Linked DNA regions of Homo sapiens: regions 1, 2 and 3 are each linked to region 4. Evidence: promoter capture Hi-C in 16 types of primary human blood cells and fetal thymus (Javierre and others, 2016). All regions are on one chromosome and are shown on one strand. Each heading gives the region's core, a stretch centred on a gene start or on the middle of the fragment in contact. The rest is flanking DNA. Distances are from core to core; before and after follow the strand shown.

What was found. The method cuts DNA at HindIII sites, captures the fragments that hold promoters and counts their contacts. A CHiCAGO score of 5 or more calls a contact.
Region 1: a fragment that was not itself captured here is called in contact with the fragment with the promoter of DOK7 in region 4 in 1 of 17 cell types (M1 macrophages); the score reaches 5.9 in M1 macrophages.
Region 2: a contact is called between a fragment that was not itself captured here and the fragment with the promoter of DOK7 in region 4, in 3 of 17 cell types (M0 macrophages, endothelial precursors and naive CD8 T cells). The highest score is 7.6, in M0 macrophages.
Region 3: a contact is called between a fragment that was not itself captured here and the fragment with the promoter of DOK7 in region 4, in 1 of 17 cell types (endothelial precursors). The highest score is 5.1, in endothelial precursors.

What each region holds. Positions count from the first base shown.
Region 1 is chr4:3,255,116-3,260,410 of GRCh38, reverse strand. It overlaps MSANTD1 (Myb/SANT DNA binding domain containing 1), which reads right to left. Exons shown (of 3, transcript NM_001042690.2): 3 at 3,798-4,686. The coding sequence ends at 4,446. Among named protein-coding and RNA genes, the nearest start is that of MSANTD1, 8.6 kb to the right of the region's middle. The HindIII fragment of the contact is 4,206 bases long and covers 1-3,461 here.
Region 2 is chr4:3,209,426-3,214,250 of GRCh38, reverse strand. HTT (huntingtin) reads right to left here. Exons shown (of 67, transcript NM_001388492.1): 47 at 4,302-4,424; 48 at 2,109-2,322; 49 at 1,542-1,687; 50 at 116-293. Among named protein-coding and RNA genes, the nearest start is that of MSANTD1, 37 kb to the left of the region's middle. RefSeq lists enhancers at 1-299, 300-800. The HindIII fragment of the contact is 3,319 bases long and covers 1-2,909 here.
Region 3 is chr4:3,239,411-3,244,233 of GRCh38, reverse strand. HTT (huntingtin) reads right to left here. Exons shown (of 67, transcript NM_001388492.1): 67 at 277-4,388. The coding sequence ends at 4,175. Among named protein-coding and RNA genes, the nearest start is that of MSANTD1, 7.3 kb to the left of the region's middle. The HindIII fragment of the contact is 2,634 bases long and covers 1-2,567 here.
Region 4 is chr4:3,461,475-3,466,298 of GRCh38, reverse strand. DOK7 (docking protein 7) reads right to left here and starts at 2,993. Exons shown (of 7, transcript NM_173660.5): 1 at 2,870-2,993; 2 at 2,748-2,793. The coding sequence starts at 2,923. RefSeq lists enhancers at 1-450, 3,368-4,215. The HindIII fragment of the contact is 8,339 bases long and covers 1-4,758 here.

The DNA of each region.
Region 1 (5,295 bases), core at 109-2,608, 200 kb after region 4:
CACTCCTATACTTCACAACCAAAACACCCCCAAAGTGGACGGACCCAGAGCCTGCTGAGAGGCCAGTGGGCTTCTCTTAAGCCAGAGATTTACGACCATGTAAAACTATGCCACACTTCTCCCGAAAACTTTTTGTTTTGGAAAATATATTTTTCATACAATTGTTATTTATGTTAATATGTCATGGGTTTATTGCTATTTTGAAATGAATACATGTTTTCTAAAGGTCTCAGGTTTAATTTCTAATAAGATATTCTAATGTGTATTAATATTGGTCATTAGAACTCACATAAGCAAAAGTTCTTTGGCACTTTTAATGAATTTTATTTTATTTTATTTTTATTTATTTATTTATTATTTTTTTTTGAGACAGAGTCTCGCTCTGCTGCCCAGGCTGGAGTGCAGTGGAGTGATCTCAGCTCACTGCAAGCTCCACCTCCTGGGTTCACGCCATTCTCCTGGCTCAGCCTCCCAAGTAGCTGGGACTACAGGCGCCCGCCACCACGCCCGGCTAATTTTTTGTATTTTTAGTAGAGACGGGGTTTCACCGTGTTAGCCAGGATGATCTCAATGTCCTGACCTCGTGATCCGCCTGTCTTGGCCTCCCAAAGTGCTGGGATTACAGGTGTGAGCCACCGCACCTGGCCCACTTTTAATGATTTTTAAGAGCGTTGAGGGGTCCTCAGACCAGTTTGAGGACGGCTGCCGCAGGGTGGCCTGTCTAGGAGTGGCACTGACCAGAGGAAATGCGTTTCTTCAGCTTTAGGACGGGACACCAAATTGCTCCTGGAAGCGGCTGCACCACATCCCACCAGCAACGCAGGAGTCTCCATTTCCCGACGTTCGTCCTGGCCTCCAGCAGCCACATGATCTCAGTCTGCGGTTCCAACTCCCCGACTCCGAGGGAGGCCGAGCGGTCTTCTCACGCTGACTGGCCTTGGACTTTTGGCCCCGTTCTTTTTTCATATGAATTTAAACATCATCGCGTCCATGTCAAAACCAAGAAGTGATATTATTGAGACTATGTTTGGAATGACATTAATAAAATGATGACATTGACTTTGGAGCTTTCAGGAGTGTGCGAAGTTTCTCCAGCGCTCAGGTATTATTTAGATTTTTCAGTAAGACTGCATAGTTCTCTTCAGTAGAGGTCCTGTTCCTTCTGGGTTAAATTCATTCCAACTCTGAATGGGATATTTCTTCATCCTCATTTTCAACAAGTTTAAGCTGGTTTAAAGAGCTCCCAGTCTTTTGTACATTTGGCTTTCTGGGTATACAAAAATGAAATCTGAAAACAAAGGTAACTCTACTTTCTTCATTTCTTATCCTGCTTATTTTATTTATCTTTTTTTAATTTTTTTTTTTTTTTGAGACCGAGTTTCACTGTCACCCAGGCTGGAGTGCAGTGGTGCAATCTCAGCTCACTGCAACCTCCGCCTCCCGGGTTCAAGCGATTCTCCTGCCTCAGCCTCCCAAGTAGCTGGGATTACAGGCATGCACCACCACGCCCAGCTAATTTTGTATTTTTAGTAATGACGAGGTTTCTCCATGTTGGTCAGGCTGGTCTTGAACTCCTGACCTCAGAGGATCCTCCCGCCTCAGCCTCCCAAAGTGCTGGGATTACAGGCGTGAACCACCGTGCCCGGCTTTTGTTTATTTATCTTAATGCATTAGCTAAAAACGTCAAAACAACATGAAATACTACAGGTGAAAAGCAAGCACATCTGCCTGGCTCCTGATTCTAGTTTTCAATGTTAACATGCTGCTTTGCTGAATCTTATCAAATATTTTAGCAATGGCTGAGATCATTTTTTTTCTCCTTAATGGACCAACAACTAAGGAAGAAATCAGAAAGTTGTTAAGGACATGCTGCTGATGAAAGGCACCAACCCCACGATATTCTACAGCTGAGTTCTGCTGACATGAGGCGATGCTGCTCCAGCCTGGAGAAGGTCGGGCAGCGCCTGCCCCTTCTCTAAGGTGATGGAAGGGCATGAATCACTGACTCTGATTAGAGAGGGCGAGAAGAAAACAGACCAAACCACTTCTAACCCAAGCACAGCAGCGACTCGCGGTGTGCTGTCCCGGATGCCTGGCAGTTACTGAAGTACCGGTGCGTCATGGCTGACTCTACAGCAGTTTCAGGGTGAAGAAGTTGCTACATCATTTAGAACCTCCATCTGTTATGTCTTGTGGGAGCGTCCAGCCTAACCTTCCTGCCAGGGCCGCGGGCACCCTTCCCTCTCGAGGGCTTGTGACTGGCTCCCTGTTAGGAGGCTGGGGAACCCCACACTGGCCCCATGGGAGCTGCTAGCCAGCCTCAGTGGTCAGCAGCTGGGGGCAGGTGCCTGTGTCATGGCTGGGTTCCCAGCATCTAGGGTGGCACAGGTGTCCAGTTGGAGCCCAGTGTGTTTGTTAAGCAAATGATTTCTTGGGTGGTGTCTTGCCTACGAGGCGGGTGGGTCCCGGAGCTGGAAACTGGCTAGAGCAAAAGCTCCCAAAACTCAGGCCCGCATCAGATGTGCCCGCATCCTCTGTCCTCCTGGGGCCACCCTTCCTTCTGCTTCTCGGCAGGTGCTATGGCAGCCACACTGGCTTGCAAGAGCTGGCTCTGTGCATCTCTTCTCAACCACAGGGTCAGCGGCGTCATCTGGCAGCTGGAAACTGGCACCGTAGCGCTGGCTGCTGCTCCCTCCTCCCACCACTGCCGCCGCTCCTTACACCCTCACGACACTCTGCCTCTCATCCCACAGCAACATGGGCCGAGTCCTCGGCACACAGGCTCTGGGGAGATGGCTGAGGAGGGTGGGAGCTCCAGGACCCTCAGAGTGAAGTGAATCCTGCTTGCCCAGCTCCCCTTTGGGCTCCACAGAACACGCCGGCCTCTCCTTCACACAGGCAGGCCGAGGGCACCCTCCACACCACCATGGTCCACAGGCTGGTCCCACACCCAGTGGAGTCCAAGCTGCTCTCTTGCCTGGCTGACCTCAAGACCCCCTAGAGGGTAGGATGAGCTGCTGCTGCTTGTCGCAGGATGACTGCAGCACTGCCTGGCAGGATGCCTGCTGCCACACCTGCCTCTGCACCTGTCTCCACGGCCTGCTCGCTTGGCAGCCAGAGGGAGATTTTTCTGAACCCTGAGTCAAACCATGCTGTTCACCTGCTGACCCACCTGCCAACAACCTTCTATTTGGGCAGCAACTTGCCTAATTCCAGGAGGTGACTCAAACACACCTGGCCCCAGCCTCCTTTGCAGCCAGGGCAACCAGACGCCCGAGTCCCGGCCAAGGAGGCTCATAGAGAATTCAGCTTTGGGAAAGCTGGAGCTTCTAGAAAGAGTTTGAAACTGGTGGAAGGGCCGGCAGTGAGGTGAGCTTGCAGCTGTGGCCGCTCCACCACCCCTCTGTCCCCCACCGATGTCAGACCCAGAGCTGCACTGGCCAAAAGACTCCCACTAAGCTTGAAAAGCATGAACACTCCTCCCCACGGGCTGCACGGGCTTCCGTGGCCTGGCTGCTGGCCACCAGCCTCCTAGCTGCTCCTGGGCTTGCTCCAGTGTCCTCTGCCTCTGGGCCTTCGCACTGGCCGTTCCCTGTGTGGCCACTGTTCCCAGCTCCACGTATGTCTGCCTCCGTGTCCTCAGGCCAACCCCTCCCTTCCAGCACTTATCACAACCTGCAACCATTTCTCTACTGACCCATGTGTCTTCCCCGCATGGGAGCATAAGCTCCAAGAGGCCAGGGCCTTTGTGTCATCCACCATGATATCTCCAGCACCCAGAACACTCAACAGGGCTGTGCATGTGAACAGGTGTTACGACTTTTATTAGTGTCATTGCTAAGGAGGCAGTGGAAACACCTGATGCTCCAAACAGAGCTGAATAAAAGCCTCCTGGAAGGTCGCTGGGGTTTTCATCAGGCGTCAGAGGCCATTTAAGGAGAGACGCAGAGGTCCTGGTGAGGGAGGACACAGGGTTCCCTTCAGGAGAGAGCTCCCCCAGCTCCAGCCTGCCCCAACCCGTTTCCATCTGCTTTCATTTTCGGGATCCATCAATCAGGGCATCCTCACCAAGCCAGCAACAGCAAACTGTGCGTTCCAGGCAAGAATGAAAAAGTATACGTTTAATATCAAAGCCACGTCAAGTATCATTGATAGTAACGACACTGGAGAGTGGCTCTAGGACGTTCTTACTCGGAGTGAACCCCAGAGGCCCTGGCCTGTGTCCGAGGAAGGGCATTCATGCTGGAGACTGGAGCCTCACGGTCCCCAGGGCCTGGGGGTTCCTCAAAATACCCCTCAGAAGGGACATCCTGCCAGAGGCCAGGTGGAAGGCGGTCTCCGCTCGCGGGGCGGCCCCCTTGCCCGCCTGGCCTGAGTGGCCTGCCCTGGGTGGCCTGAGCAGTACCACCAGCCGCCCGGCCCCGCCGCCGCCGCCGCCTGCTGGCCTAGACGCTGGACTTGGTGATGATCCTCTCCAGCAGACTCATCATGCGCTCCTGCAGCTGCAGGCTCTGCACCTGCAGGATGTGCTGCTGGTCCAGCACGCGGCGCACCTCGCGGCAGGTCTCCTCCACGGCGCGGCTCAGCCGGCGCTGCTCCTCCACCATGGCCTCCAGCAGCCGCAGCTGCTTCTTCTGCAGGTGGCAGCTCTGCACCTTGCGCTTCTTCACCGGCCGCTCCTCCGACCTGGAAGGACAGTGCCGGCTGTGGACGTGCTGGCCACAGAGCCTGGGCACACCAGGGGCCTCACCGGACCCTCCCGACAATCCTACTGGGCAAATGGGGAAACTGAGGCCCCAGGGAGTCAGGTCACTTACTCAGGGTCTCATATTCCATGTGCAAAGGAGGGGCCAGAACCCACCGCCTTTGACAGAAAGTAACAGGGGTGGCCGGGTGTGGAGGCTTATGCCTGTAATCCCAGCACTTTGGGAGGCAGAGGCAGGTGGATCACCTGAGGTCAGGAGTTCAAGACCAGCCTGGCCAACATGGTGAAACCCCATCTCTACTAAAAATACAAAAATTAGCCAGGCGTTGTGGCGGGTGCCTGTAATCCCAGCTACTCGGGAGGCTGAGGCAGGAGAATCGCTTGAACCCACGAGGCGGAGGTTGCAGTGAGCCAAGATCGCGCCACTGCTCTCTGCACAAGAGCGAGACTCCGTCTCAAAAAAAAAAAAAAAGAAAAAGAAAGAAAGAGAGGCCACAGGCATTGCCGTCCTTTGCGACTAGCGGATGACCCCAATGACCAGGGTCCCAGGACAATCCACACCCCTTCGGTCTGGAAAGGGTGGGATGTTC
Region 2 (4,825 bases), core at 1-2,500, 250 kb after region 4:
CTCTCCATCCCCAATTCCTAGCTTAGTACCTGGCAAACAGGCAGCACAAAATAAAAACATGGTGAAGCAGACAGGAACTATGATAGGAACCCACCGTTCATGGACGGGGACTCACCGGCCTCCAGGATGAAGTGCACACAGTAGATGAGGGAGCAGGCGTGGGTCACAAACTCTGTGGAGGAGACCACGCTCCAGAGGCCAGGCAGCTGCAGGGCCAGGCAGCAGCAGTCCAGCCCTGCCTGGAGATCCAGACTCAGCGGGATCTGCTCATGGATCAAATGCCAGGACAGGGCCTAAAGGGAAGTACCGAGTCACAGAATGCCCACTCGTGTACCTTCGTTTGGGGAAGCCGTGTGAATCACAGTTGTGGAACCGTCCAAAGCACTGAGGGGCAGCGCGTCCAGGTGCCCTTGCCCTTCCAGAAGGACAGCTCTGACATGGCTCCATTACATTCAGTCCTGACCCACCTATTCCCCAAAGTGCCAGTCCCCTCTCTGCCACAAAGCCCCCTTACTCTGCTGCCTCTCTCTCCTTCAGCGCTGTGGGCTCCTGTAGAAATCTCTCCTGGGCTACGTGGCCACCAGGCCAGAGGCTCTTCCTTGGGGCTCCCACAGCACCAGGGCTTGCCTCTGTCATAGGTTGAATTTGAGAGCGTGGGTTCTAGGGATAGCAGGCCTTGGGTTCAAATGCCAGAATGGCTACTTCCTAGCTCAGAGGACCTGGGCAAGTCACTGAAATTCTCTAAGCCTTGCTTTCCTCACCTGTCAAATGGGAGTAACAGAGCCTATCTCACAGGGGGTTGTGAGAGTCAAATAAGATGACGCATATAAAGTATTTCATCCTGCATACAGCAGGCACATAATATAATCAGCAGCAATCACCCTGTGCTGTGATCACACGCTGACTTTCCCACTTCCCCACTAAGCTGAAACCTGAAGGACAGGGATCACAAACCATATGACTCCACGTGGTTCAGAATAAGGGTGTATTTATCATTTTGTGAGTAATGGCACTGATGCCCTTTGGACTCCTCCCTTTCTTTGGTGTGAGGTGGAGGCGGAGCCTCTGTGGGTCTGCAAAGTGTGTCCTTGCTGAGGGCAGGCAGCACAGCGATGGCCCTTTAAGGATACAGGCCAGACTTTAATGCATCCAGAACGTGTACACATTCTGGGGGCGAATTACAAGCACTAACACAAACCAAGTAAGTATTCCTTGGCTGACATGTCCAGGCCAACTTAAGACATAAAGTACTTCCAGATGATTATTTTTCATGTCTCTAAAATTAGGATCCACCTAACATGGTAGGTGCAGATGAGAAGGGGACCTGGCTGACCTCACAGGCCACCATGAGGAGTGGCGAGGTGAGGGTGAAGGATGGCTACAATAACTTGACGGTGACAAGACTTACTGCCAGGCTGAGATGGAAAAGTGACTGGACTGGTCAGAGATCTTGCTTTTCAAATAAAACTGCTTTACCCTCTTCAGTGTCAGCCCCATGCCCCCTCCCCACAGCAACACTGAGCTCCCGAGCTGCCTCTTACCTCAAGGGTTGCCACCACGAATTTCACAATGTCCTTCTCTTTCTCAGGAGGAAGGTGCAAATGACTGGGCAGTTTGGAGACCACCACCAGGTACTGTGCCAGGGCCCGGGCCAGAGTGGGCAGGGACTGATACAGTGCAGCATCCCCTGAAACAGAAGGACCTCGTGGGTGGGTGCAAACGTGAGCACAGATGCATCAACTTCGAAAGGCAGTCAAGCAATTCTCTGAGAATCTGATGAAAGCTCAAGACATTGTTCCTCAGTGGCACATCTACACATCCGTCCACAGGACTGCACGTGGTTTGGGGCTGCATCTCCCCTGAGGTCTGGCCCAGCCTTCCTCAAGGGCTTAGAGCCCTATGTCCATGACCATGTCAATGAATGGCAAAGTGGCAAACACACAGGAAGAAATTCTGAGCCGAGGACACCCGTGCTGCTCTTTAGCTACCTCTGTAAACGCTTTCAATGTATTAGATCCACTGCCTTTATTGTACATTTACTTGGTGCAAAGTACTATACTGGCCCTGGAATGCTTTTTAAAAATAAGATAAATTTTAATTTTAATTACCAAACAGATCATTCAACTTGCTCCAGTAGGCCGCCGGCTCTGCAGGCAGCTCGGGCTGGAAGACATGATGGACAGCAGGGAGCTGCTGCACGGTGCCGCTCACACGGGCCAGAGTCACCTCACGGGCTGCTTCAAAAAGGGCACTCTTCTGGCCACCAGAAATTTCACTCATCCCTAGGCTTAAGCATGGAGCTAGCAGGCTTAGGTTGAACTCCTGAAATCAGAGCATTAAAGGTTAACAAACAATAACAACAGATTATGAGCTTTCAATCAGGTAAGAAAAACACAACAGAAAAAAGAATAAGGCAAATGTTTCTGAGAAAATACAAATTGGTATACCATCAAAAATATTTTTAAGAAAATTCTACTCTATGCCTGTTATAAATATTTGAACAATTTCATTCAACATATGCTTAGTAAAATATATATCTGTTCTCTCTTAGTATTTTAAGTAATATTTTAATTTTTTATGCTCTTGGATTTGCTTGAAATAAAAATTTTGGTATGACAATTTTAATTCATAAAAACAAAATCAAAGCTAAAGTGTCATCCAAGACCTCAGTGATACACCAACCACCCTAAAGTTTGAAAAAGATGTTCAAATGCAGCTGAAATACGTAAAAGTAGCCATATGAATGCCAAAATTTTGGTTGGAAAAATGGTATTTCTTATGTCAATTTGGATTATGTTTTAGCAACCCTTTTGTTTAGCCATTTAAAGATTGGTGGCCGATCCTTCAGGTAAAACATCTATCTTAGTTTAATACTCAGAAAAGCATCATGAATGCCAAAAGTTGAAGCTTTCTTTTACAGTCAGAACTTTTACAGCTGTTCAAAGCCCAATTAGCAAATTTGGAAAACCTAATAAACAGATCACTAAGCAAATTTATCACTCAGTAAGTTAGCTTTCACTGCATGAATCTTAAGATAAACAATTTTAGGCCGGGCGTGGTGGCTCAGGCCTATAATCCCAGCACTTTGGGAGGCCGAGGTGGGCGGATCACCTGAGGTCAGGAGTTTGAGACCAGCCTGGCCAACATGGTGAAATCCCGTCTCTACTAAAAATACAAAAATTAGCCGGGCGTGGTGGTGCATGCCTGTTAATACCAGCTATTTGGGAGGCTGAGGCAGGAGAATCGTATGAACCCAGGAGGCGGAGGTTGCAGTGAGCCAAGATAGCGCCATTGCACTCCAGCCTGGGGGACAACAGCGAGACTTTGTCTCAAAAAAAAAAAAAAAGATAAACAATTTTAGTAAATGGATTTTGGGCTAATTCTCCTGTTGTTTTCAGTTGAGCTCTTCAGTACATCAGAACACACTGTTGTGTTGCCCTCCCCACAAGGTCTCTTTTCATGAACACCTGCCGTCACTCCCGGCCTCTACAGGCATTTGTCCTCCCAGGTGCCCACTTCCCTCCCATTTGCTGCATATCAACGCAGGGCTAAAGCACCAGGAGGTTTCTCCCGTCCTAGTAGGTCTGAGAAGAAGCCCTGCTTGGGCCATGGCTGCACCATACCCAAGAGGTGGCCCCCCCACTGCTCACAGGACCTGCCCACGGGTGAGGGACAGGGACACCAAGGCTTTGCATGGCCTCCTAGCTCTGCGCAGGGTGCCCTCTGACATCTGGGGTTGGGGGGTGAAGAACCTCACTACATCTAACAGAGGTGTGAGTAGAGGAAATCTCGCTGCATCCAAGGGTCTCTTTTACGACTAAAGATCAACTTCCAAGACACTAGAAACAAGTTATTGACGTCACGCATTACGACACTGTGTTGAAGTCTACGGCAAATACGCAACCTTGACTTCCATTCTGTCTTGGCCATGGAGCTTAGATGATAACATCCTGTGTTTGTTCCTCCAGTGGAGGCCAGATAGTTCTCATCCCAAACCATACACCCAGCCTTGGGGCCAGCTGGATTTCAAAACAACACCTCCGTGGATTCTAATGTGGCTGAAACAATGTGCTTTTCTGTCTCGATCAGCATAACCCCCATGTCCCGACCCCATCTGAAATGGAGTCCTCCCCACTTCCCGGCCCCATTCAGAGTGGAGTCTCTCCGACATCCCGTCCCTGCCCAGACTGGAGTCCCCAACATGTGTTGTCAACAAGTGGGTCACATGATGATGAGACAAATCCCACTTGGAAGTCACAAGAAAAGCTGAGGATTCCTTGCCTCCACTGCTCCCCCCGTACCGAGTTCATCATGAAGGCATTCATATCTTCAGCAGGAATCCGATTCACCAGCTCTGCACCTTCCAGCAGTGCAGAATCTGACCTGGTCCAACACTGGGATTTGACAAGATGAACGTACCAGTCCTGGGAAGAAAAAAATGGATAAGGGGAACATGATGGGCGGCGTTCAAGGGGACTTCACATCCCTGGAGCTACAGGCCTAGGCCAGTGCTTGGGAACACCGCACTAGGCTGAGAGGGCTGCCGGCCGGCAGGCTGTGGCTATACGGCTCACCACACCACAGGTTTTCCCCTTTGGACTTCTGTTACCTGCCTGGGCACCCTCACAGCCTCCCCCTTCACCTGGTGAACTTCCAATAGGCCTTCCAAATATAGCTAAACCACTAAGGGTTAGCGGCCCCTTTGCCATCCTCTCCTGGGTTGTCTGCTTTACTCATCTCTCCCCAGCAACCAGGGCAGGGCAGGTGCTTAGCGAATAGAGCCTAAGAAGGCAGGACTGAACCTTCGCTTTCTTATACTTGGGCT
Region 3 (4,823 bases), core at 1-2,500, 220 kb after region 4:
AGGAAGACCACCTGTACTGTGGTTTGGGAAGGCCCTTGCAGAAGCACCCAGCCAGGCCCATGCCCTGGGGCCACTTCCTCATCCCTGGCTACAGAAAACACGGGGCCTGTCCCTGCTGGCAGCTGCCTGGGGGACCCTCCATAATGCCAGATGTTAGCTGGTGGGACAGTTTCTGCCCCTGCTGGAGAAGCACTTAGGAGACTGCTTCCTAAGACTCCAGCTCAGCAAGGTCTAGGTTCTCATGAAGCAAAGCAAGCCTCACACAGCAACAACTGATGGTTTCCATTTTTTTCCTTTAATTTGGATGTACAATGTTTGCAGCAGTTAAAAAATTAAATATACATCTCTCGTCAGTCCTTCCCTTTGCTCTCAGAAGCATTCAGGTCTGGGTGGGGCTCCGGGACTCGCCCATCACAGCCCTGCTGGCTCCAGGGGAGCTCAAGCTCAGCTGACAGTCCCTCTGACCACGGTGCAAAGCAGTGAGACCTGGACAAGGAGGCCCCACTTGGGTCAGAGCCCACCCTCCGTAGGCAGGTCCACGTTGGCCACGATCCTCCAAGGCTGGCAGTTACCACCCAGATTGCAGCGGGAGACTCTGCTCTTAGAAACAACTGAGGGGAAGGCGTTCCTTTGACTGCACCAGAGCGTGACAGGCACATGGGGGAAGAGCGGCCCCTGAACCTTCCAGGTTGCCTTCAGTTGTCATGCGGCATTCTGAGCAGCTCCCTCCTTCCCAGGAGGCCCAGGCCCGGCAAGCGAGTGTCCTCGTCTGAGCCATCCTGAGCTCTCCAAGGTCCCTCAGCAGCTCTCAAGATCTTCCTTCTTCTCACTCCTACACGTGACCCCTCTGGAGGACAGCTCCAAGTCTACCCTGGCCAGCAGCTGTGGTCCCGGGTCCTCCCCGCAGAGGGAGGAAGCGGGGGAGGGACAAAGCCCGATGAGGATGTCTGCTGGGAAGGATGCTCACAGGTAGCAAGAGAAGCCTGACTCCACCCACCAGACACACAGAACTAACCTCACTCCACCCCGCAACGGGAGGAAGTTCCACCTGCCAGGCGGCCACACACCGAGTTATTGCTGTCTACTATCCGTCCCGAGCTCCACGTGGGGCTCATCTCAGCTCCAAGAGGAGGAGCTGTTCATTGGCTCCGAGGGCTCTGAAATGACCCCCTCCATGAAGATGGGGGCGAGGGGTGTCCTTTAGGGCACAGGGCCTTCTCAGATGCTACATTCTGGGTGTCTGGAGGGGGTTCAGCTTCACATTTTCCCCTTGAAAGGACACATGCGCTGGCAGAAATGAGGGTGGACAGTAACAAAGAGCACTTGGCAGCTGGAAACATCACCTACATAGACTCAGCTGGGCCCGCAGCGGAAGGGAGGCACATTTTGGGAAAGAAACACGCTTCAGTGCATTGCCAAACAATTCTACCCTGGTTTCATTAAAATCTTTCCCGATATTACCAGCAGGAAAACAAAAGCAATCTCCCCACAGCCCACCCCCAAAACTTGACAACCAAATTAATCACATTTGCAACAAAATTTGGATAATACGATGGGTGCTTGCCACAGATTTTTAGGAACATGATAAAGTCTTCCTCCCTTCTGCAGAGAGCTGATATGGAGACCATCTTCGCCAGTGGGATCCTAGTGGGCAATGAATGAGCCCTGCCCTGACCACGTCCCACGCCTGGATGTCCGTCACGCGGCTAACTTGACCTGGCGGGTCTAAGGAAAGTCAACTTCCAGGAAGAACCGACACGGGCACTCTTAGAGGCCATGCATCTCCGTCTTGAGAGGTGTGTGTGTAAAATTATAGATGTGTCTATATGCACATGCATGGATACTTTATGTATATGCGTGGGTGAAGTCATTTTTACTAATGAGCTCATATTCATCTCCGGAGCACACAGGCAGGTCTTTGGGGGTGGGGGACACCTACTGCCAGAGCGGGGTGTTCTGAGCCCCTTGCTAAGGACTGGTTTAGATCACGTCGTAAACAAGAGGAAGACAAACTCTATGTTGAGCCCAGCGATATGCATTCCAAGGGAATGGCTCTGTTTTACATTCACAGTGTTATTTCTTACAAATGTAAACATCTAGCCAGGAACAACATCTGGCCTGTGATACTGCTGTCTCAGAGCTGCTGACATAACCTGCGGGGGAGGCGGGAGGCGGGTGGGGAGCAGCCAACAGTTCTGAGAACTTTCCCCTCGTTCCCAAACCTTCTAGCGGGCTTTCCAGGAAAAAGCTAGGATGAGAAACAGGAGCCCCCAACCAATACGGAATGGTGATTTTCTTACGTGTTATAATTCAGTAGCTTCCCTTAAGGGCCTCCTCAAACATCGGACCCCTTTCTACCGCTCCTGCTGCCCCGCCACGAGGACGAGGTGGTCCTGGCTGGGGGAGGCCTCTGTTGGGAGCTGGTGGGAAAAGCCTCATACAGGCCTGGCAGAGGCTGCTCAGAGGAGGGGCTCCCTTTCAGCTCCCCCTCACGTATGTGGGCAGCATACAAGTCCACATCTCAGCTGCTCCCCAGCTGCCACATAGGAGAGGGACAGGTGGAAGCTTGGGGGTCTCAAGGCAGCACCTGCACAGAGTTCCAACATTTCCTCCACTTACCACATTCAATACCCAAAACATCGACGGGCATGACCAAACCAAGCCACATGACAGTCGCCAACCTTGCCTGGCTCGCCTCTAGGGCTGAGGAAGCAGAGCCCCTGCCTCGTCTCACAGCCAGTCGGCAAGCAGAGCTCCCAAATCCAGCTCCTACATCAGCAGCAGCCCGGCCATCCAGAATCCACTTCCATTTTAATGACTTGGCTCCTCTGGGCCTGCAAACAGGAGGCTGGTCCAGGGACCTGGCCTGGGGATAGGAGTGGCGGCTCTGACAGGGCCGTGGGGCAGTCTCCGATGAGCACAGATCTGCACTCTCCTGACTAAAAGGGGTCACCGTGCAAGATGTCAGCTGGAACGGGGGCAGAAGGGATGCTGGGCTCTGTCACTAACAGTGCCAAGACACCAAGCTTTGCTGTTGACCGAGAGAGGCTCAGACAAAACACAGCTCAGTGACACTCTTAGGGCATGCATCCATGGAGCAGCAGGTCCCAACACCTGCCAGCCAGCTCCTAGGCAGACGCCACCCCAGGGCTAGCAAGGAACAGGAGTGGGAGGCCCATGTCTCTGGACACAGTGGAGGCTGCTCACAGCCAGGGAGGGCTGGCCTTCTCAGCTGAGTGACAGGGAGGCTGCTGTCCCTGACTGGTGGGTGGAGAACGACAGTCGTCTGTGCCCGAGGAGGAGGGGCTGCAGGTGAGCGCACCCCTAGGATAATGGGGGCCTGTCCTCAGTCCTGCTGTGGCCACCTGCCCACTAACGCCTCTCTACATCCCAGTCACCTTGTGAATGCATAAACAGGAACATGTACAACGGAAATGTCAGCGGGTGCTCAGGAGGGCTATGCCAGTGGCTACAGGAGAGGGAGCGTGGCCGGGGGCCCTGTCCACCACCCCGGACGCTGTCGCATGCAGCACAGGCCTTGCGATTCACATACTTTACACGGGCATAGAAAGAGTTACGTTAAAATTAATCTCTTTACTGATATAATTAAATTTTAAATCCTGAGAAGAAAAGAGAGAAGGGAGAATGGTGCCGGGTGTCTAGCACCCCCAGCCACTGGCCCAGCACAGGCCATGGCATCTGTGCATCCAGACACGGGGCGTGGCATGCACACCCCACCAGGGAGACCCAGGCCAGTGTTCCCAAAGCCTGCTCACGGCACCTTCTACTGCAGGACAGCAGAGGGGCCAACAGCCAGCCTGCAGGAGGGAGGACTTCTGGCCCAGATGCAAGAGCAGCTGCAACCTGGCAACAACCAGCAGGTGACTATCAGGAGAAAGGACCTGGTCACCCACATGGGGTGCAGCACAGCTGCTCCTGCTTTCTGGAAGGCCTCAGGCTCAGCCCCACCAGGACTGCAGACACTCCCTGCCTGGCCACTGCCACAAAGAGCACTTCTGCCACATGGCAGAGACACGCACGTTGCCTGGCCGCCCGCGGCATGTGCGGAAGCCCATAGGGACCAAGCTGGCTCGGTGGAGGCAGGGCACAAGGGCGCAGACTTCCAAAGGCTCCGGCCCCAGCTGCCGCCTCACAGTCTCTCCCACCATGGCGCTCAGCAGGTGGTGACCTTGTGGACATTTCGTAAACAAGTCAGCAGCCGGTGATATGGGCTTCCTGGGGCTGCAACCACCTCAAGCACAGACTGGAAGGCCCTGCGGTCGAGCTCCTCCTCTATCTGGTGTCTGTAGAAGTCTGTGGCGACCAGGCAGAAAAGGTTCACGTCCACCTGCTCCAGCTTGCCCATCCTGCTGATGACATGTGGGAGGCTGGTGCAGGAGTTAAGGAAAAAGGCCGGCAAATGAGGGGAATGCTGCCTCCCTGTCCTCACCTGGGAGTTCCTCTCCTGAAACAGTCTACAAAGGGGTCCAGGGAGCCTGGAGAGCGAGCAGAGCCCCGGAAGGGCCACCTGGATGCCTCCAGCTGCATCAGCGCCTCCACCTCCATTCCTGCAACCCTTGGCTGGCTGGATGCCCTGCAGGCAGGGCACCCACTCGGCAGCACTCACCTGGCCTGGCTCCTGTGCAGCGCTGGTGGCCGGTGCTTCCGCTGGCCTCCACTAGCCCTGCTCCAATGCAGTGAGGGCAGAGCCGTGCCAGGCACGCCGGGCAAGGCTGTGCTGTCAGCACCAGGACAACTGTGCTGCTTGGAGGCTCTTGTGGTCTGTCTTGGGGAAGGGCTGTGGAAAGGGAAACTCCTGGCAG
Region 4 (4,824 bases), core at 1,744-4,243:
AGTCCCACCGAGAGCAAGGATAGGGGAGACTAAGCAAGGGCCCAGCCATCAGCCCGGGGGCAGGCGCGGAACTTCCAGCCAGCTGTGGGGGGCAAGGTTTGGGCTGGCTGGGGGGAACTGGGCTCTGCCCAGCAGTCCATGTCTTGGGCCAGATCCCTCGGGTTTCTGAGTTTCAGCTTCCCCCCACCATGGTGACTCCAAGACCCTGCCAGCTCCAGGACTCGGGCCCTCCCGGTGGCTTTTCTGAGCTGGATGAAGCCCCCAGGGGCAGCCCCTGTGGGAAGCAGGCCCCCTCAAGTGTCTGGCCTGGGGCCACACTCTCCACAGGATGTCAAGAACACTTTCCTCACCACCCCCAGCCCCCGCACCTGGGAGGAAGAAGAGAGGGGCTGGGCCAGGCGCCGCTGGCATGCAGGGCCACCAGCAGTGAGTCCTGGGCCACAACTGGACACAGACCACCCTCCTCCCCCGGGGCCCTGCCCAGAGAGGGGACGCAGACACGCATTCCGCAGTGAGGACGCGGTGGAGACATTGAGGAACGTGGTCCCACTGCAGGGCACCCTGCAGTCCCACACCGAGGCAGACGGCCCGACGTCCACTGGCCATGCCAGGCGCTGTGGCTGAGCAGCCCTTTGATAAAAGGGTTTCCCTTTCATTCGCTAAACCTTGTCATAACAGAAAGACGTGCTCACGATTGAGAAAAACGCAAGGAGGAGAAAGGTGCCAGTGGAAAAGGTGCACATCGGGGCCCTTCCCAGAAGGAAATCACCACTGGTAACAAAAAGAACCCTGCCTGTCTTACAAGGAAGCAGACGGGACCCTTCCTCTCTCCCTCACACCAGGAGCGCAGGGTCTGTGCTGTCTGCTCCTCCAGGGCTGGGGCCTGCTCCCTCCACGCCGGGCCCATCCACAAGGGAGGTGGTCTCCAGCGCTGAGCGGGAAGGCAGCTGGGTGAAGGCAAAGGGGGCAGCATCTAGGGAGGCTTATGAGGGGCCAGGGGAAGAGGCATCAGGGCCTCTGAGCGGAGAGGAGGTGCCAGGCTGGCCTGGTCAGGGTGGGGAGGTGGGCGTGAGAACTCCGCTCTGTCCCATCCCCTCATCTGACCGACCTCTGGGCAACCCCACAGGGTGTCAGTTTCAACCCTGGGCTGCTGGAGTGACCAACACAGAAAGCAGGTGTCCAAAGCAATGGGTCCCAGGCCAGTGAGTCAGTGGGTGCTAGGGACACCTGGCCTCAAGGCTTGGAATGAACATCCACCCAGAGGGGGCATGGCACCTTCTACTACCCCACATCACCTCCCACGCCAGCCCCAGAAGGCTGCAGATCTCAACTGCGCAGGATACGGGATAACCCAGCAGACGCTCGGGAGCCACCATGTTCACCTACAGACTCACAGATTGTCCCACCTGGGGGACCCATTGCAAACTCCTGTCACTCCACTCAGGCACTCACCGGCCGGGGGAGCACACCCTCTTGAGGCTGGCAGGCCCTGCCTCCTGGGACTGTCTGATGCAGAAAGAAAATCCCTCCAACAGGGACAAAGACTTCTCCCCCGACACTCCTCTTTGGGGGCTGCTGTCCCGGGTGCCTTCCTGGGATGCGGCCTCTCTGGAGGGTCTGCACCGGCTCCAGCCCAGCACCATCCACCAAGCATCACCTGCCCCACCACGGCCCCGACCCAGCCACAGCTGACTAAAGCCTGTCATCCGCCCCAGCCTGGCAGGGCCTCTCACTCTGCCCAGACCCCATCCCTTCCTATACCAGGTCCCCTGCAGCCCCGGAGGACAAAGACGCCCTCCCAGGCTCTGTCGGTGCCCCCACAGCTCCAGGCAGGAGGTCTGGGCACGGAGGGCTGAGTGGAGAAGTGACCAGCGTGCAGTCCAGGCCCTGCAAGGGGAGGCGGAGGCAGGCAGGAAGTGCTTTCCTCCAGGACCACCTGAGGCCCTGCAGAGGGGACGCAGGAGGGATCCCTGCCCCACACCCTCCCTGGGAGTCACAGACACCCGTCCTGGAGGGTGCTCTGGCAGCCCCCTGGCGTACAGCCCCCCATGCACACAGGCCGAGCATCCCACCCAGACCCGGGCCTGGCCGGCTCTGCCGCACCTGTCCTCTGGAGCAGCTGCAGGCCCGGCTCAGCCCTCCCTACAGGCCCAGCGCTGCAGGCGGCCTGGGCTGCCAGACCTGGGGGCTCCATGCTGACCCTCCCCAAGCTGGGGTGCTGGCTCAGGGCGGGGACTGGGGGGGGACCCCTGCCTCCTCCCAGAGGACTGTTCCCCCAGCAATGTGGCAGTCACTCTGCCCTGCCCTACCGCAGCCCAGCCTCTCGTCTGCCTGGGAGGGGTCCAGGGTCAGCGCTAACCCACGCAGCACCCCTGGAGGCTGGGTTCGGGGGCCCTGCTCTGAGCGTTTCCACAAGCACAGCTCAACCCTCAGGTATGTGGGGCTTTGCTTCTGGGGGGCCCCTTGCTGCTCTGCTGGGGGGCTCAGGGCCTGCGTCCCCTCCGCCTACAGGGCCACCAGGCAGCCCCTCGGGCCTCAGTCTGCCCTGCTGGAAAGAGGGTTCTTCCGTCCAGGGCCCCCACCTGCGCTCCCAGGGGCGCCGGGGGGTCCGGGTCCGCACGGGGCTCTCGGGTTTCCCGGCGGGGTGACAGCGGCGGCGATTTTGGGCAAGCTGGCATTACTGCCCCGGGCCTCGGTAACCCGTGTCGCTACCCCCGCGCCCCCCGTCCCCCGCCCGCCCCGCTCACCTGCCACGGGCGACGGCTTCCGCAGCACCAGCCACCTACTCTTCCACTGCGGGGACAGGGGGGAGCGTGAGCCGCCGCCCGCGCCCGCGCCCCCCCCCCCCGCGCCCCCGACGCGCCCCGACCTTCTTGCCGTCCCGCAGCTTGACCTGGCCCTCCACCAGCGCCGCCTCGGTCATCTTCTGTCATGGTTCCGCGCCGCCGCGCTCGCCCCGGCGCCCCAGCCCAGGGTCACTTTCAAAATAGCTCGCAGGGCCCTGGGCTGGGCCAGGAGGGCGGGCCCGCGGGCAGGGCGGCGACACCGGCGACTCCAGGGCCGGCGCGGGCGGGGCTCCTTCTCCTGCGGGCGGCTCCCCCACCCCCACGGGCCCCTCTGGCCCCACCGTCCCGCGGCGGCCACTGGAGCCGCCCGCCCTCTGGAGCAAGCGCACCATCTGGGCTCAGACGCTCAGACCAGCGCCTGGCGGGGCGGGGGTCGGGCGGGGACTTCTTTTTCAAAAAGCAGAGACAACCACCTAGCAGACATCGGCCCCGCTCTGGGCACTGCTCCCAACTTTAAAGTTGGTCTTCAAACAATCCGGCTTCCCAGACTGGCATCTGCCCCTACCCCAGGGGTCACTAGACACCCGGACAACAGACTGGCCACAGGCAGCCCAGGCCTAGGATGCTCTCACATCCCCAGGCTTCCCCCACACTGAGGTGACCCCTCCCCAGGCAGGCAGTAGGGGTCGGGGAGCCCCTGGCAGCCTCTGTCTCTTCCTCCATTTCTGTTCCCATTAAAAGCCTGCAGGGACCCCAGTGCAGGTGGGCGGGTCCAGGACCCACAGTGCCGCCTCAGGGCCCCAGGTCTCCACCTCTTCTGCCCCCATCCCAGGCAAGAGCAGGCCCTGGTTAGGCCAGCCGGCTCCGATGGGCAGAGGAGCTGCCTGCTTTGTAAAGGACCTGCCAGCAGCCCTCCCAGCTGGGTGGACTTTGCGCTTCTGGACTCCCCCTCCTTGACCCTGTGGCTCCAGTCCAGCTGTCCCCAAGCTCTGGCCTGGGCATTAGATGTCACATCCAGGTTCTTCTGCAGAGAGGCCATGTGCTTTGGGGGACCTGGCAGGTCCGTGCCTTGGGTGTCAGCCCCATCCGAGAGACGGCCTCCACCACCCTGGGGTTGGGGACACCCAGCAGATACGGGAACAGCAGTGGGGAGGGGCGATGGCACCCTAGAAGATAAGCACCTGGACAAACAGCAAAGCTCCGTCCACATGCCCTACCCTAGACCCCATCCTCACGGGGCTGACGGTTCTCGGGGGAGAAGAAGGAAGGGGTAGACAGTGTCCCGTTAGGGAGGAGACGTCTTCATTTCATCCCATCCAGACCCTAGGCTGGGCTCTGTCTGCCTCGCACTGAGGAGCAAATGGAATCAGGGCAGCGTGAGGCCTCACAGCCAGGACTGAGCCACATCGGCTGACCTCAGAGCAGGGCTCAGAGGCATCGGGAGCCCTGGGCGCCCCTCCCCACTGCCCCTGTGATCCAAGAGACAGGTCTCCGGTGGGCCACAAGGGTTGGCTTTGGTGCTTCGGTGATGTCTTGTCAGGGCCTCATGCAAGGCGGGGGACACCAGGCCCAGGAAGCAGAATTTTGCATCCCCCACCCACCCCCGCAGTCACCTGTGCAGCCACCAGCCGCCTTCCGCAGAACAGTTGCTGGGTCACAGAGCCCCATTCATGCTCCCCACACATCCCAGGCCCCCAAGGGGCTGGCCCAGGACAGCCGGTGCGGAGGCGGGGGCCGTTGGGGCTGTAGCCACAGACACATCCGCTGCCCTGGGCGCCTGGCACTTGCTTATCCCTACAGGGAGAGGCAGGGCCCTGCTGCATTCCTGAGTGCTGGCCCGGGCCCAGGCTCCTGCCATGCCTGGCAGCTGCACCTGCTCCCACACAGCCTGGAACACACAGGATGCCGGAGGGTAGACAACTCCCTTCCCTGCTCCATGCGGCTCCAGGGCTGCTGAAAGGTGGAGGAAGCTTCCTGCAGGAGGAGGAGGTGGCCTGGCTGCCACTCCCAGACTGGCCGAGAGCGCTGTGACCCTGGG